2 separate regions of the Homo sapiens genome follow, and region 2 is linked to region 1. The links are contacts of gene promoters, found by promoter capture Hi-C in human tissues and cell types (Jung and others, 2019). All regions are on one chromosome and are shown on one strand. Each heading gives the region's core, a stretch centred on a gene start or on the middle of the fragment in contact. The rest is flanking DNA. Distances are from core to core; before and after follow the strand shown. Region 1 holds the start of TRMT10C (tRNA methyltransferase 10C, mitochondrial RNase P subunit). Region 2 overlaps ABI3BP (ABI family member 3 binding protein).

Region 1 (7,200 bases), core at 2,610-5,109:
CTTATCAACAAAAGACCCAATTACATAAACTTTGTCATGCCTGAAAGTAGTCATAACATTGGGAGAATCTGCAGTTAAATAGATAATACTGTCCTTTGGAAATAAATCTACATGAGACTTTTCTGTTGATGTTAAAAGCAATTTGTCCCATTTTTCTTGATACCGTTTAACTAACTCTCTGTGCAAAGCACCATCTATTTTTAGATTGCAGAAATAAATATGGAAAGGATCAACATTTCTTCTGTTCCATCCTTCACTTTCTAAAAGCTGGGAAACAGTATTCTGCAATTCTTTTCGTTTCATATAATTTTCGTAAGCCATGTCAAAAACCAAAGGTTGTCCAAACTGCATGGCCTGGGCACCCTTCCAGCCCATTGCTATGTCCATATTCCTATCCCAAAGTCGTAAAAATAGAAAGTTTTTCTGTTTATCTTCCTCAGTGGTTTCTAGCAGCTTGATATTTTTTGCTTCTTCCCTTGCTGCTGCTTTCATTTCCTTTTTTATTTGCCTAGCTTTTTTCACTTTTTCCTTCGTATATAAATATTTTAAATATTTTTTTTTTGCTGTGTTAGAAACACATTCCATAAGGGTTTTGAGCTCTTCTTCAGTGATGTGTTCTGGTACTTCTCTGCCAAGCAATCTCCACATCTCAATGAACTCTCTGGTGGCAGCTAGAGGATCTTCATCCTTACTGCTTGAGATTGTTGAAACACATTCTTCTTGCACACTAGATTTCATGGTAGTTTTCCACTTATCCAACTCTAGCTCTTCAGAAGGGGGTGTACTCTCATTTTTAGGATAAGTAACAGCTGGTATTTTGGAAGACATGTATCTCTGCAAAATTGTTAAGTTATTTCTCTTCCTATGAAGGGTAAATGGCACCAAAAACCTGGTGAAAGGTCTGAAGAAATTGACACTAACACTCATTTTGAGGAAAGCAGCCATGTAACAAAACCCCTGTAAAAGAAGAAAAATGCAATTAAAAATTAGACAAAGATTTTTATAACTTCTCAACTAATTGTGCAAGTATAAATTTGAAATAGCAAAATAAAATCAATTTTTGAAACACAAGGTAAAATCTTTGTACCAATTTTTTTCCTAGACTCCTGTGGTCTACAGCCTGTGATCACTCATTGAGTAAAAAGTTTAAAACTTAGTTGGGTTCTTGGCCGGGCGCAGTGGCTCATGCCTGTAATCCCAGCACTTTGGGAGCCTGAGGTGGGTGGATCACCTGAGGTCAGGAGTTCAAGACTAGCCTGGCCAACATGGTGAGAAACCCCATCTCTACCAAAAATACAAAAATTAGCCAGGTATGGTGGCAAGCACCTGTAATCCCAGCTTCTCGGGAGGCTGAGGCAGGAGAATTGCTTGAACCCGGGAGTTGGAGGTTGCAGTGAGGCGAGATTGTGCCACTGCACTCCAGCCTGGGTGACAGAGTGAGATTCTGTCTCAAAAAAAAAAAAAAAAAAAGTTGGGTTCTTATTTTAGACATGAATTTCACTATTGCTTTAGCTAAAAGGATAAGTTGAAGATCCTTTTTAGATTTTTATCTAGGGGCCCAGAGAATCAATGTTACTGGGCAACAAAGTTATGTACCACCGAGGCAGCTGACATCATGATGCTGCATACTCCTCCATTCTACACTAAGCCCAGATACAGAACCAAACATAAGATCCTTCACAAAAGCAACAAATAAAGACAAAGGACATGAAAGGTACTGAGAATGGCAACAGGTAAAAAGCACTTAGAAACTGCTGTACCAATGCCCTCGTTACAGAAATATACCAAGATCTACTGATCAAAAAATAGCAACAAATTCTTCCCCAGTTCAGGCTTTATTTTGCAGCAAATAATGTTATTAACAAAGAAAATGTCCAAGATTGAGACAAATGTATATAAATGTATATAAAGCTCCACAGTTTTATCCTAAAAGCCTGGATGTCCATGAGATATTGAAGATGCTTAAAGATGTAAAACTTGTCTCAAATTTGAAGGAAAAGAAATAAAGGGAATTCAAATTTTTACAAAATGCAAATAAAACACTTGAAAAATTCCTTCTTCCCTTGGCTTCATTTAATGACCCTGCACAGGCTCCTAGGTTTCCTGCTCTCTGACCTGTGCACTGATGTCCAGATGCCCCTCCCTTAAAGGTGGATGTAACTCCGCATTCTATCCTATTCTTTTTTTTCAATCTATACATTTCCCTTCTGAGATGTGACCTACTTCTGTGGCTTCAATGACCATGCATTAGAAAGACATCTCAAATGCAGGCCGGGTGCAGTGGCTCACTCCTGTAATCCCAGCACTTTGGAAGGCCGAGGAGGGAGGATCGCTTGAGGTCAGGAGTTTGAGACCAGCCTGACCAACATGGCGAAACCCTGTCTCTACTAAAAATACAAAAATTAGCCAGGTGTGGTGGCGCATGCCTGTAATCCCAGGTACTCGTGAGGCTGAAGTGGGGCGATTCTTCTACTTCCCAGGTACTCGTGAGGCTGATGTAGAAGAATCGCTTGAATAAGGGGGGCGGAAGTTGCAGTGAGCCGAGATTTTGCAACAAAATCTGTTGCAGTGAGCGACAGAGTAAGACTGTCTCAAAACAACAAAAACAAACAAAAAACACCTCAAACGCAACAAATCGAAATAACCCCTCTACCTTTGCTTCACAATCTGATCCTCCTTCAATGTTCTGTTTCAAGGGATATTGCTATCCATTGGTATTGTTCCCAACATATATTTCTAAGCTTATTGCGGCCAGGTCAGCAGCATCTCTAGCTATTCTTCACCTCACACTTCAAGTATTCCACCATTACTTTTCACAGCACTCTGGTGCCTATGACAGTACTTCTAACACTGCACTGTAATTGCCTGGTTATCTATTTGCCTCACTAGATGGTAAGGACTAACTAGTGTCCATGAGGACAAGGACTTTGTCTATAATGTTAACATTGAATCCAATGCTTGACAGTATTTGGCTCACAGTAATCACGCAAATATTTTTCTAATACCCTAGATCGATGCTTCCTTCATTAAAAAAAAAAAAAAGAAAAAAAAAGTTCAGCCTCCCTTTATTATTTTTTTTGAGACGGAGTCTCGCTCTGTCACTCCAGGCTGGAGTATAGTGGCGCGATCTCGGCGCAAGCTCCGCCTCCCAGGGTTCACGCCATTCTCCTGCCTCAGCCTCCCGAGTAGCTGGGACTACAGGCACCCGCCACCACGCCCGGCTATTTTGTATTTTTAGTACAGACGGGGTTTCACTGTGTTAGCCAGGATGGTCTCGGATCTCCTGACCTCGTGATCCGCCCACCTCGGCCTCTCATTGTGCTGGGATTACAGGCGTGAGCCACCGCGCCCGGCTCAGCCTCCCTTTAAAGAGAAAACAATTTACTTTAGAATCCCGGAAATATTTAACTGGGGTCCCCAGGCCCCAATCTAATAAACATTGATTTCAGAAGGAGTTTTAAAAGTTTTATTCTTGTAACTGGCAAGGACTTAGAATACCACAGAAATGAAAACCCCAATTGTAAAAAGCAATCAAGTACATCATTTCAGGAACCACTGATTTTGTTTCAGGTACTGTACTAGTTATAGTTTATTAAAATCACTGGGCTTCCTCTTACCCGTGGGCCTTCCGAACGCACATGCTCCACTAAGTGCATCTTGGAACGTCTCCGGCGTCCTCCCACCCCCAACACACACATTAGGCGAAAGAAGAAACTCGCTTACCAGGAGTGCAGAGATAGTGGTTCCCGCTGGCGCAAAGAACAGGGACCCTGGAGGACGAAGGACTCCGACGTACGGACGCCCAGGGATCCGCGCCGAAGCTAGCACGCAGCCTACCCAACAGTCTACACAGCCGACCAGAGCGGTCGCTGGGGCTCAGCCGGAAGTTCCGCCCTCTCCCTTCCGGCGCTGCTTTTTACGTCACAGCACGCAAAGAACGCTTTCTTGGCTAAAAGAAGCGCCTTAGAGGAGACGGCTGTCAGTAGGCAACTGGGTACTCGAAGACTACGCTCTCAGTTGTCACGGAGTTGTAGCTGTGTTGTGTTGTGTTTTCCTCCATATATCCTAAAAACTTCTTCTGGGCCGGGCCAGTTGGCTTACGCCTGTTATCCCAGTGCTTTGGGCGGCCGAGGCGGGCGGATCACTTGGGGTCAGGAGTTTGAGACCAGCCTGGCCAACATAGTGAAACCCCGTCTCTACTAAAAATACAAAAATTAGCCAGGTGTGGTGGCGCGCGCCTGTAATCCCAGTTGCTCGGGAGGCTGAGGCAGGAGAATCGCTTGAACCTGGGAGGCGGAGGTTGCGGTGAGCTGAGATCGCGCCACTGCACTCCAGCCTGGGCGACAGAGCAAGACTCTCTGTCTCAAAAAAAAAAAAAAAAAAAAAAAAAAACTGTTTCTAATCCTCTTTTCAACCTACTCTCTGTTTGGGCCCTGTATTTATAAACATTTGCTGACAGAGTACTAAAATAAAGTATGTTTTTTTCACACGTCTTCTTACTCAGCTTCAAACTCCTTGACGCTAGGACTTTAAACTCCTAATCTTTTTGACCAGTTTATCACCAGTACCTGGCACTATGCTTGGAACGTGATAAGCCACGGTAAGTTTCTGTCTCCTCCTAGCTCATTTGGAAAGTTTAATGTGAAATGAAATTAAAACACATTTGTAAATTGGTGGCCTTTGGGGCCAATTCAGCCTCCACATATATTTGTAACCAAACACAGAATGAACATATTCTGCAGCCATTCTACTCCTAGTAATATACCCAAAGAAATTGAAAGCAGAGACACAAACAGACACTTGTACTCTAATGTCATTGTAGCATTATTGATAATAACCAAAAGGTGGAAGCAACCCAAATATCCATGAACAGATGAATAGATTAAAAAATGTTGCATGTACATACAATGGAATATTATTCAGTCTTAAAAAGGAATGAAGTTCTGATACATGGTACAACATGGATAAACTTTGGAGGCATTATACACTGAGATAAGCCAGGCACAAAAGGACAAATATTGTATAAGTCCACCTATATGAAGTGCCTAGAATAGTCAAATCATAAAGAAAGAAAGTAGAATAGTGTTTACCAGGGGCTGGGGAAAGGGAAGAATGGGCAGTTACTGTTTAATAGGTATGAATTTTCAGTATGGGATGATGAAAAAGTTCTGGAGATGGATAGTAGTGATGGTTGTACAAGAACGTGAATGTACTTAATGCCATTGAACTGTACACTTGAAAATGACTAAAATGGAAATGTTTATATTGTATATAGTTTACTAAAATAAAAGAAGGTAGGCATAGTCTTTTCCAAATGATTTTAAAAAACGAGATCTTGTCTAAGAGACTGATTACTATCATGTTAGAAAGGTGAGGTGGTGATAGCAAAATAATCATGAGTTTACTCCCAAACATGGAAAAAAATCAAGAATAAATATCGTCTAGTAGTTATAACAAATAGCAGTGTAGAGGTTATTTTTTCTTGTTCCTGTTCTTTAAAGAGATACATCTGAAGTTTTTCCATTAATATTTTATGAAGGTTTTTGCTATATGATCTTTGTCAAGTAAAGGAAATTTCATTCTGTTAAGTTTACTAAGATTCTTTATGTGAAAAATCTTTGGAAGTGTTTCTATAAATATAGCAGAACATAATTTATTCAATATGTCTGGGATCTGACCTATTCTAGATTAAGAATATTTCCAGGTTTCAGACATCTTACCTCCAACAAAAAGCACAGTGATTTTCAAAATACGTTTTTTTGTTTTTTTTTTTTGAGACGGAGTCTCGCTCTTTCACCCAGGCCAGAGTGCAGTGGCGCGATCTCGGCTCATTGCAAGCTCCGCCTCCCGGGTTTACGCCATTCTCCTGCCTCAGCCCCCGAGTGGCTGGGACTACAGGCGCCCGCCACCGCGCCCGGCTAATTTTTTGTATTTTTAGTAGAGACAGGGTTTCACCGTGTTAGCCAGGATGGTCTCGATCTCCTGACCTCGTGATCCGCCCGCCTCGGACTCCCACAGTGCTGGGATTACAGGCGTGAGCCACCGCGCCCGGCCTCAAAATACATGTTTTGGCATAGAAAAATAGCTTGTAATATGGGATGTAAGGTATCAAAAAAATAAAAAATAAATTGTAGGCCAGGAGCAGTGGCTCATGCCTATAATCAGCATTTTGGGAGGCCAAGGCAGGCAGATTGCTTGGGCTCAAGAGTTCCAGACCAGCCTGGCCAACGTGGTGAAACCCTCTCTCTACAAAAAATACACAAAAAAAGAAAAGAAAAAGAAATAAATTTTAAAAGCAAGGAAATATATAAAAACCCATAAGACAATGTCACATAAACACTAGAATTGAAAAACTAGAAGGTCTGAATGCTCTCTCTTGGCTCATATTTCTTCTTGGAAACAATGGTTAGACCTAAATAAAGGCTGTTTTGTAGTCAAGGCACCCACTCTCCAGTTCCCCAGAGCTTATTCCACCACATGTTATCTTTTCTACACTGGTGCAAATGTCATTTGCCATGTATTTTGCCTGCACTGTTTATTATATAATAGAGAACGATTTCTCTATACCAACGTCTCTTTCAAGAGTTGGAAGACAAAGCATGGATTCAAAGATTTAGGTGTTACTTACAAAGTAGAGAACTCTTGTATTTGATTCTCTGCTCTACCTTCAATGTCTACAACAGTGCTTGGCAAGTATCGGAAACTCAATAATAATTTGCTGATGAATGAATACTAAATAGATCAGGTAAGTGATGTTAGTGGCTTGGACAACAGTGGTGGCAGTAAAGGCAAAGAAAAGGGGGAATATTTGAAAGATATTTAAGAGCTGGACATGACAGAATTTGGTGATCAATTTGGGAGAGAAGGAGAGGAACAAGTCAATAGTCTGGTTTGAGCACCTGGGCAGACAGTGAAAAGGAGTATATGGTGTGAGGGCAGAGATGGTAAGTATAGTGTTAGACATGCGGCTTTTCATCTCTCTTCAAAATAGCCAAATGATATCTCCTTTAGGATATTTGGCAGTTGGCTGTATGGGTCTAGAGTTTAGGTGAAAGAAGAATGCACCAAAGATACATATTTGAGAGTTATTAACATAGAGTCTGTGAAACCATATGGGTGGAAGAGATTACCTAGGGCTTGGGTAGAGAACAGGAATGGACAAAAGAAACTGAAAATAAGCAGCTAAAGAGATGGGAGGAA
Region 2 (7,200 bases), core at 1,813-4,312, 790 kb after region 1:
CCAAAAAATGTCACACAGCCAAGATCAAATCAAGGATTGGGGAAGAATACTTCTCCTGTGGACATAAAGAATAGTTTTGAACAACAATCTACCACAGTAGGAGAGATACAATATGACATAGAGCCCTTTTTTTTCTGAAATGTAACATTTGATGAATTTTAATATATGTATACACCCATGAGACCATCATCACAATCAAGATAATAACCCATATATAACTTCCAAAAGTTTCATCATGTGTCTTTGCAATCCCTTTCTCTTATTCCTCCCACTCAACCCCCCAGTGCCTACGTGGCAACAGGCCTGCCATACTATAGTATGTACTTTATGAAATTTTATATAAATGAAAACATACAGTATGAACTCTTTTTGTTGTCAGGCTTCTTTTATCAGCATAAATATTTGGAGATTTCTCTATGTTGCTGCATGTATATCAGTAGTCCATTCCTTTTTATTGCTGACTAGCATGCTATTATTTGGATATTCAATAATTTGTTTCTTTAGTAAATGCATTCGTGGCATTGGTATTTCTTTTACATTACTGATAAAGCTATTATGACCATTCATGTACATGTCTTTGTATAGCCATATGCTTTCATTCCTTTGGACAAATACCTAGGAAGGGGTGGCTACATGACATATAAGTGTTTATATAACATTTTAAAAGACTGTTTTCCAAAGTAGTTGTACTGTTTTACCTTTCTATCAGCAGAGATGAGAGTTCTAGTTCCTCCAAATCCTCACCAACATTTGTTATGGTCAGTCTTTTTTATTTTAGCCATTTTAATAGGTGTGTAATGGTATCTGATTATGGTTTTAATTTGCAACCACTTAATAACATTGAACATCTTATGTGCTTATTTGCCATCTATATATCTTTTTTGCTATTTCCAATATTTTTGCCCATTTTAAAAAATGGAGTTGCTTGTTTAATGTTGAATTTTGAGAATCTATATTTTCTGGATACAAGACCATTTTTAGATACATACTTTGAAAATATTTTTTCCCAGTGTGTGTCTTCTAATTTTAATGAAGCTCGGTGTATCAATTTTTAGTAGAATTCACTTTCTTTAATAGGTATGGAGCTATTCAGAATAGTTTTTCTTTTTCTTTTCTTTTTTTTTTTTTTTTTGAGATGGACTCTCGCTCTGTTGCCCAGGCTGAAGTGCAGTGGTGTGATCTCATCTCACTGCAACCTCCGCTTCCTGGGTTCAAGTGATTTTCCTGCCTCAGCCTCCCCAAGCAGCTGAGATTACAGGTGCCCGTCACCATCCCCATAGTTTTTGTATTTTTAGTAGAGATGTGGTTTCACCATGTTGGCCAGGCTGATCTCAAACTCCCGACTGCCAGTGATCCACCCATCTCGGCCTCCCAAAGTGCTGGGATTATAGGCATGAGCCACCACGCCCAGCCTGCATTTTATTTTGGGTGTGTAGAACCTTACATTTAATATGGCTATTGATATTGGTACATTTAAATCTTCATCTTGCTATTTGCTTTCTATTTTTCCCATCTATTCTTTGTTCCCTTTTTTCCTCTTTGTCAATCTTCTTTTAGGTTGAGTATGTTACGATTTCATTTAATCTTTTTTGTTGTCTTATTAACTGTAATTTTGTTTTATTATTTTCATGGTTGCTTTGGGGTTTATAGTATGTATCTTTAATTTATCACAATCTGCCGTCTAGTGATAATCTACAACTTCACATATAAGAACCTCACACTAGCATAGCTTTACTCCCCTCTTGGCCTTTGGACTATTATTGTCATACATTTTACTTTTACATGTTATATACATTACCGTAAGGTGTTTTTATTTATGTTTAAACAGTAAACTATTTTTTAGAGATAAATAATAAGAAAAACATTGTGTATGTTACCTATGTGTTTACTGTCACTGCGCTTTTCATCACTTTGTGTGGCTCCATATTTCTGTCGGCATTGTTTCCTTCCTACCTGAAAGACTTCCTTTAATATTTCTTTTAGTGTGGGCCTTCTGGCAAATAAATTCTTACAGATTTTGTATGTCTAGAAAAAGTGTTTTGCTTTTAAGGTATTTTCACTACTTATTAAATTCTAAATGATGTCTTTTATTTCAATAATTGAAGATGCTGTTTCAATGCCTCTCACTTGCATTCTTTCTAGTAAGAAATCTGCCACAATCCTTATCTTTGTTGTTCTGTATACAACATGTCTTTTTTTGGTCTGCCTCCTTTAAGGATTTTCTCTTTATCACTTGTTTTGAGAAACTTGATTATGACTGGCATATAGTTTTCTACATTTTTGTTGTTTCTAGGTATCTTTGAGCTTTTTGGATCTATGGGTTTAGAAGTTTTATCATATTTGGAAGATTTGGGACCATTATTTCTTAAAATATTTTTTTCTGCTCACCCGCTTCTTTACCTCAGGTACTCCAATTACATGTATATGAGACCACCAGAAATGGTCCACACAGCTCAGTGATGTTCATTATTTTTAATGTTTATCTTCTCTCCCTCTTTTTGGATGTTTTTATTGCTATGTCTTTGAGTTCACTAATCATTTATTCTGTATTATCTTATAGGTATTAATTCTAACCAGTGCATCTTCTGTCTTATAGCTTTCATCTCTAGAAATTTGATTTGGGTCTTTTTTAATATCATACATGTCTTTACTAACTTTTTGAATATGTGGATTATAGTAATAAGTATAATTCTTATCTGATTATTCTAACATCTATGTGAGATCTACATTGGTTTCAAATGATTGATTTTTTTCTCCTTATTATAGGTAATATTTTCCTATGAATTTTACCTTTTAGGTGCTGGATTTTTTTTTTAATTATTCCTAGATTATTCTTGAGTTTTGTTCTGGGATACAGTAAAATACTTGAAGCTACTTGATTCTTTTGAGTCTAGTTTTTAAAATTTATTGAGTGGGACCAGAACTGTGTTTAGTATAGAGCTAATTATTCCCTACCACTGAGGGTAAGACCCAGTGCCCCATAAAGTATGAAGTTTAAACTATGCTTAGGGGGATCAAATTACTTTCGGATATTAGCATAAGCTAAACTTATTCAGTAAGTAAATCAACACCACCCTATATCACGTATCTCAGAGGCAAGATTTTGAATTTTCCTAGTTTGAACCATCCACATCATGGCTTTCAACCATCCGCTTATAATATGAGACCAAATGTCCTCAAATTATATTTATGAGCTCACTTCTATCTTCTTCATGAGTTTCAAAAATGTTAAATGTCAAGGGTCCTCTCTCTCGTAGGACCTCATGTGCGATACATCCAAAAGCCTGACAACAGTCCCTGCTCCATTACTGACTCTGTCAAACGGTTCCCCAAAGAGGAGGCCACAGAGGGGAATGCCACCAGCCCACCACAGAACCCACCCACCAACCTCACTGTGGTCACCGTGGAAGGGTGCCCCTCATTTGTCATCTTGGACTGGGAAAAGCCACTAAATGACACTGTCACTGGTAAGATCATGGCATGAGGACTGTTATGGTGGGAAGCTTTGATAACAAGATACCCTGGGAGTGGGGTACCCTGGGTCAACGTTGACATGTGAAGCATACCTGGGGAGGAGACAAAACTAGCAGTTTTGCTGCCTTTAAGGCACATTATTGTCAACAATGTCATAGGATGAGAAAAGATCATCTTTGTCCTTGTTATGGTCTCCCTGTTAATTTAGTAAATCTCCTCAAGCTGCATTCTTTCCATCTCCTCTCAGAACTCTTTTTCACACAATGAAGAAGAAGCTAGTCTTTCATTATCCAGAAAATTACATTGCTGATTAATTTAAAACTAATTTTCCTTTCACCAACCCCATTTCTTATTGACCTAGAACTTTCTAGCAGACTAAAGGTTACTTCAACTGTCTTAGGATAAATAAAAACAAAAATTCTATTCCTGATCAATTTTCTTCTCATCTTAAGAAATTTTTATTCTGTTACCACCCACCAATTCCTCTAAAAATGATTGTAAAAACTAAGAAACCCCAAGACACTCTGAATTTGTTATACAACAGTCTGATTCTCCATAACGAAGAGGATAGTCAAACGAGAGGAGGATGAAAAAAGACTAGCAAGCTAAATCAGCTAGAGGATATAGCAAATAGCATGGTAAGTGAATTCCTGCCACCCAAGTTCCTGCCATGTACCTGGTGCAGGCAGGCAGGGAATAGAGGGGTCAACTAAGAGGCCATCAGGAAGGGAGAGGAGCAGTGCACAGGACCAGGTAGCGCATGCAGGGACTCAGGATCTGCCAAAAACATTTCCTACTGCACATGGAAAACAGCAGCTATGTCTCCTCAGACAGAACCATTGGATCTGGGCAACTTCCAGTGTAAGCGGCTTATCTTAACTAGCTTTCTTTACCACGTTTTGTGAGTTTCCCTTTCTCATGCAAAGCTAGCCTTTGTTTTGAGAAAGAACCCACTGCTACCCATGGTTCCTGGAGATTTTCCTAGTCCTGCTTCTTTCCTTGGGACTGTGCTAATAGGTACTACAAATATCTAAAAATCAATTAATCTCTCAGTACTGATTATCTACATCCATTAAAATGTCTAAAACTCTTCATATACTGTGCTAGTAAGGAGTTCCTGTGATCATCTGAGGCTTAGTTCTCATGAAACTAAATGATCTATAAAATTTCATTTGCCTTAAAGATACGGAACATTGAGTTGGAACTGGTTAATCTAATACATTTAATTATCGAATACACATCAACTTGGATATATTCATAATATCCGATGTAACTTTATTAAGCTGAAGAATTGGCCTTTCTGATTGTATATATGTTTAATCTCAAAAAATCATGGATAGAGTATACTTTATCCATCTAACCAAACTGCTTTTGTAATGCTGTTACTAAATGTTAATGAGGTGCTTGAGATCTGTCACATGATACAGAGGACTTATAACAATTTTTGTGGACAAGGATCACATCTCTTTAGCTGCAGAATTTCCTAAATAGAATTAAGTTCGTATTTAACCATAGTTCACCTAGTCCGTATTTAAACATTAGACCATTTGCCCTAAAATCCTGTTGGTTTTTCATTCCATTTTGTTTTAGTGTTCCCTTAAATACCACTTGATTTCAAAAGCGATTGTTTACAAACCAGCAGCTCAGATAATATAGAGATTAATTCTTATATCTCTTGAACTGACTTTACAAAAAGGAACTGAGATATAATAGAGTTATATCTATTCTTCCCCCTGAGTTGGCTTCTTTCTTTGAGTTGATGGGGACACATATTCACCTCCAGTGAAGACATCCAGCTTCAGCTGCTTCTACATGTCCTTTCTATACTGAAGTAGAAAAAGGTACACCAAAAAATTGGCCATAGCCTGGATCCTTGGGCAACTTCAAGTTGTTAGTTATCAGCATCATAATCTGATAGTCCAAGAGCATGCTGACACAGATTTAAATCCCAGACCAGCTTTATTTTAGATACTCAACTTGTGTATAAAATTAGACTGTTTGAGCCTTAGTTTCCTTAGGTGTAATAATAATAATAATCCTCATTGTTATCAATTTATCCTGAGGAGAAAAATAAGATATTTGAATATGCCGCATAAACTAGAAATTGTTAATGTTTATCGGTAGGAGCAATTTTTGTAATGGTGGATTTACGAAAAGGTATTAGCACTTGAAAGGATTAAAAAATGGGAAATATATATTTACAAAGCACAAGACAAATGTATATTCAAAAGCTACAATTCTGAAATTCTAAATGTCTTTTTAATTAGGAAGAAAGCTTCTAGATCCATTTTGAGAATTCTGATCTTCCATAAAAAAAATTATTAAATCAGCTTTTAAAACTTGAGCCAGGCCGGGCTCAGTGGCTCACGCCTGTAATCCCAGCACTCTGGGAGGCTGAGGTGGGCGGATTACGAGGTCAGGAGATCAAGATCATCCTGGCTAACACGGTGAAACCCCGTCTCTACTAAAAATACAAAAAATTAGCCGGGTGTGGTGGCGGGCGCCTGTAGCCCCAGCTACTCCGGAGGCTGAGGCAGGAGAATGGAGTGAACCCAGGAGGCGGAGCTTGCAGTGAGCCGAGATGGCGTCACTGCACTCCAGCCTAGGCGACAGAGTGTGAGACTCCGTCTCAAAAAAAAAAAAAAAAAAAAACTTGAGCCAAATGGAAATCAGAGAAGACATGCAATAGAAGTTTCAACTACTAAAAGGCAGGTTTAATATTAAGAAGAATGTCATACAGTTGAGGAATGTCCCAAGCCAAAGATGCTTTCTGAAGGTGGTTGCTTTGGTGCATAACCAACTGGAGTGTCATATAAATTGTTCTTTTGGTGATTTAGCAGCACGTGAACCTTTCCTATTGGAATCTTAAAATTTTTCTAGTCATATTTTCAAACCACAACTCAAGGATGATAAATAATAATAAAAGCAGCATAATAATAGGTACCACCTGTTGAACAAAATCTATGAAAAATACTATCAAGGCACTTTCCACCTGTACCCAATTTAATCCCCATAAGCAGTAGTATGAAGAGATATTATTAACCTTCCACGGATGGGAGGACTGAGACCAAGTTCAAGGCAGGTGGCTTAATTTGTTTCTTTCCATTAAGCTGTTTGGTTTCCTTTTTTTTTTTTTTTAATCAATTTTACTTGCATTTTAAGTCCTTCCATCTTTTTCTAACAAATATCCCTTCACAGCTGAGGAAAAAATATAAAATGGACAGATTTTAATTCAGAATTCTCTCCCTTCCTCTCCCTTTCCAGTCCGTTCGGAGAGCCAGCTGAGAGATAGTTTTGGATCAAAAAGAAGTCTCAGTGACAGCACTAGATAACAGTCATCAGTACTTTAATAGCTGCACCAATAGTATCCAGAAACCATGGCCACTGTCTTCCAGTTTAATTTTTAATTTTTGGAAGAATGGTCATACAAAATTGTTCAGAAAAAATCATCCTCCTCTTGGGGTATTTTAAATATGCAATGAAAAATCTTCCTAAGGCTGGGCGCAGTGGCTCACGCCTGTAATCCCAACACTTTTGAGAAGCTGAGGTGGGTGGATCGCTTGAGCTCAGAAGTTCAATACCAGCCTGGGCAACATGGCAAAACCCTGTCTCTACAAAAAATTAGCTGGGTGTGGTGGTGCGCTACTCGGGAGGCTGAGGTGGGAGGATAGCATGACCCCGGGAGGCGGAGGTTGCAGTGAGCCTCCCCAACAAAAAAAAATCCTC

The links. The method cuts DNA at HindIII sites, captures the fragments that hold promoters and counts their contacts. A contact is called where the count stands out against the background at its distance.
Region 2: a contact is called between a fragment that was not itself captured here and the fragment with the promoter of TRMT10C in region 1, in 1 of the 25 tissues and cell types used here (lymphoblastoid cells).

What each region holds. Positions count from the first base shown.
Region 1 is chr3:101,558,527-101,565,726 of GRCh38, reverse strand. It overlaps TRMT10C (tRNA methyltransferase 10C, mitochondrial RNase P subunit), which reads right to left and starts at 3,859. Exons shown (of 2, transcript NM_017819.4): 1 at 3,724-3,859; 2 at 1-957. The coding sequence starts at 945. RefSeq lists enhancers at 3,724-3,793, 3,804-3,873. The HindIII fragment of the contact is 17,919 bases long and covers 96-7,200 here.
Region 2 is chr3:100,767,010-100,774,209 of GRCh38, reverse strand. It overlaps ABI3BP (ABI family member 3 binding protein), which reads left to right. Exons shown (of 68, transcript NM_001375547.2): 62 at 3,258-3,467. Among named protein-coding and RNA genes, the nearest start is that of TFG, 61 kb to the right of the region's middle. The HindIII fragment of the contact is 3,129 bases long and covers 1,498-4,626 here.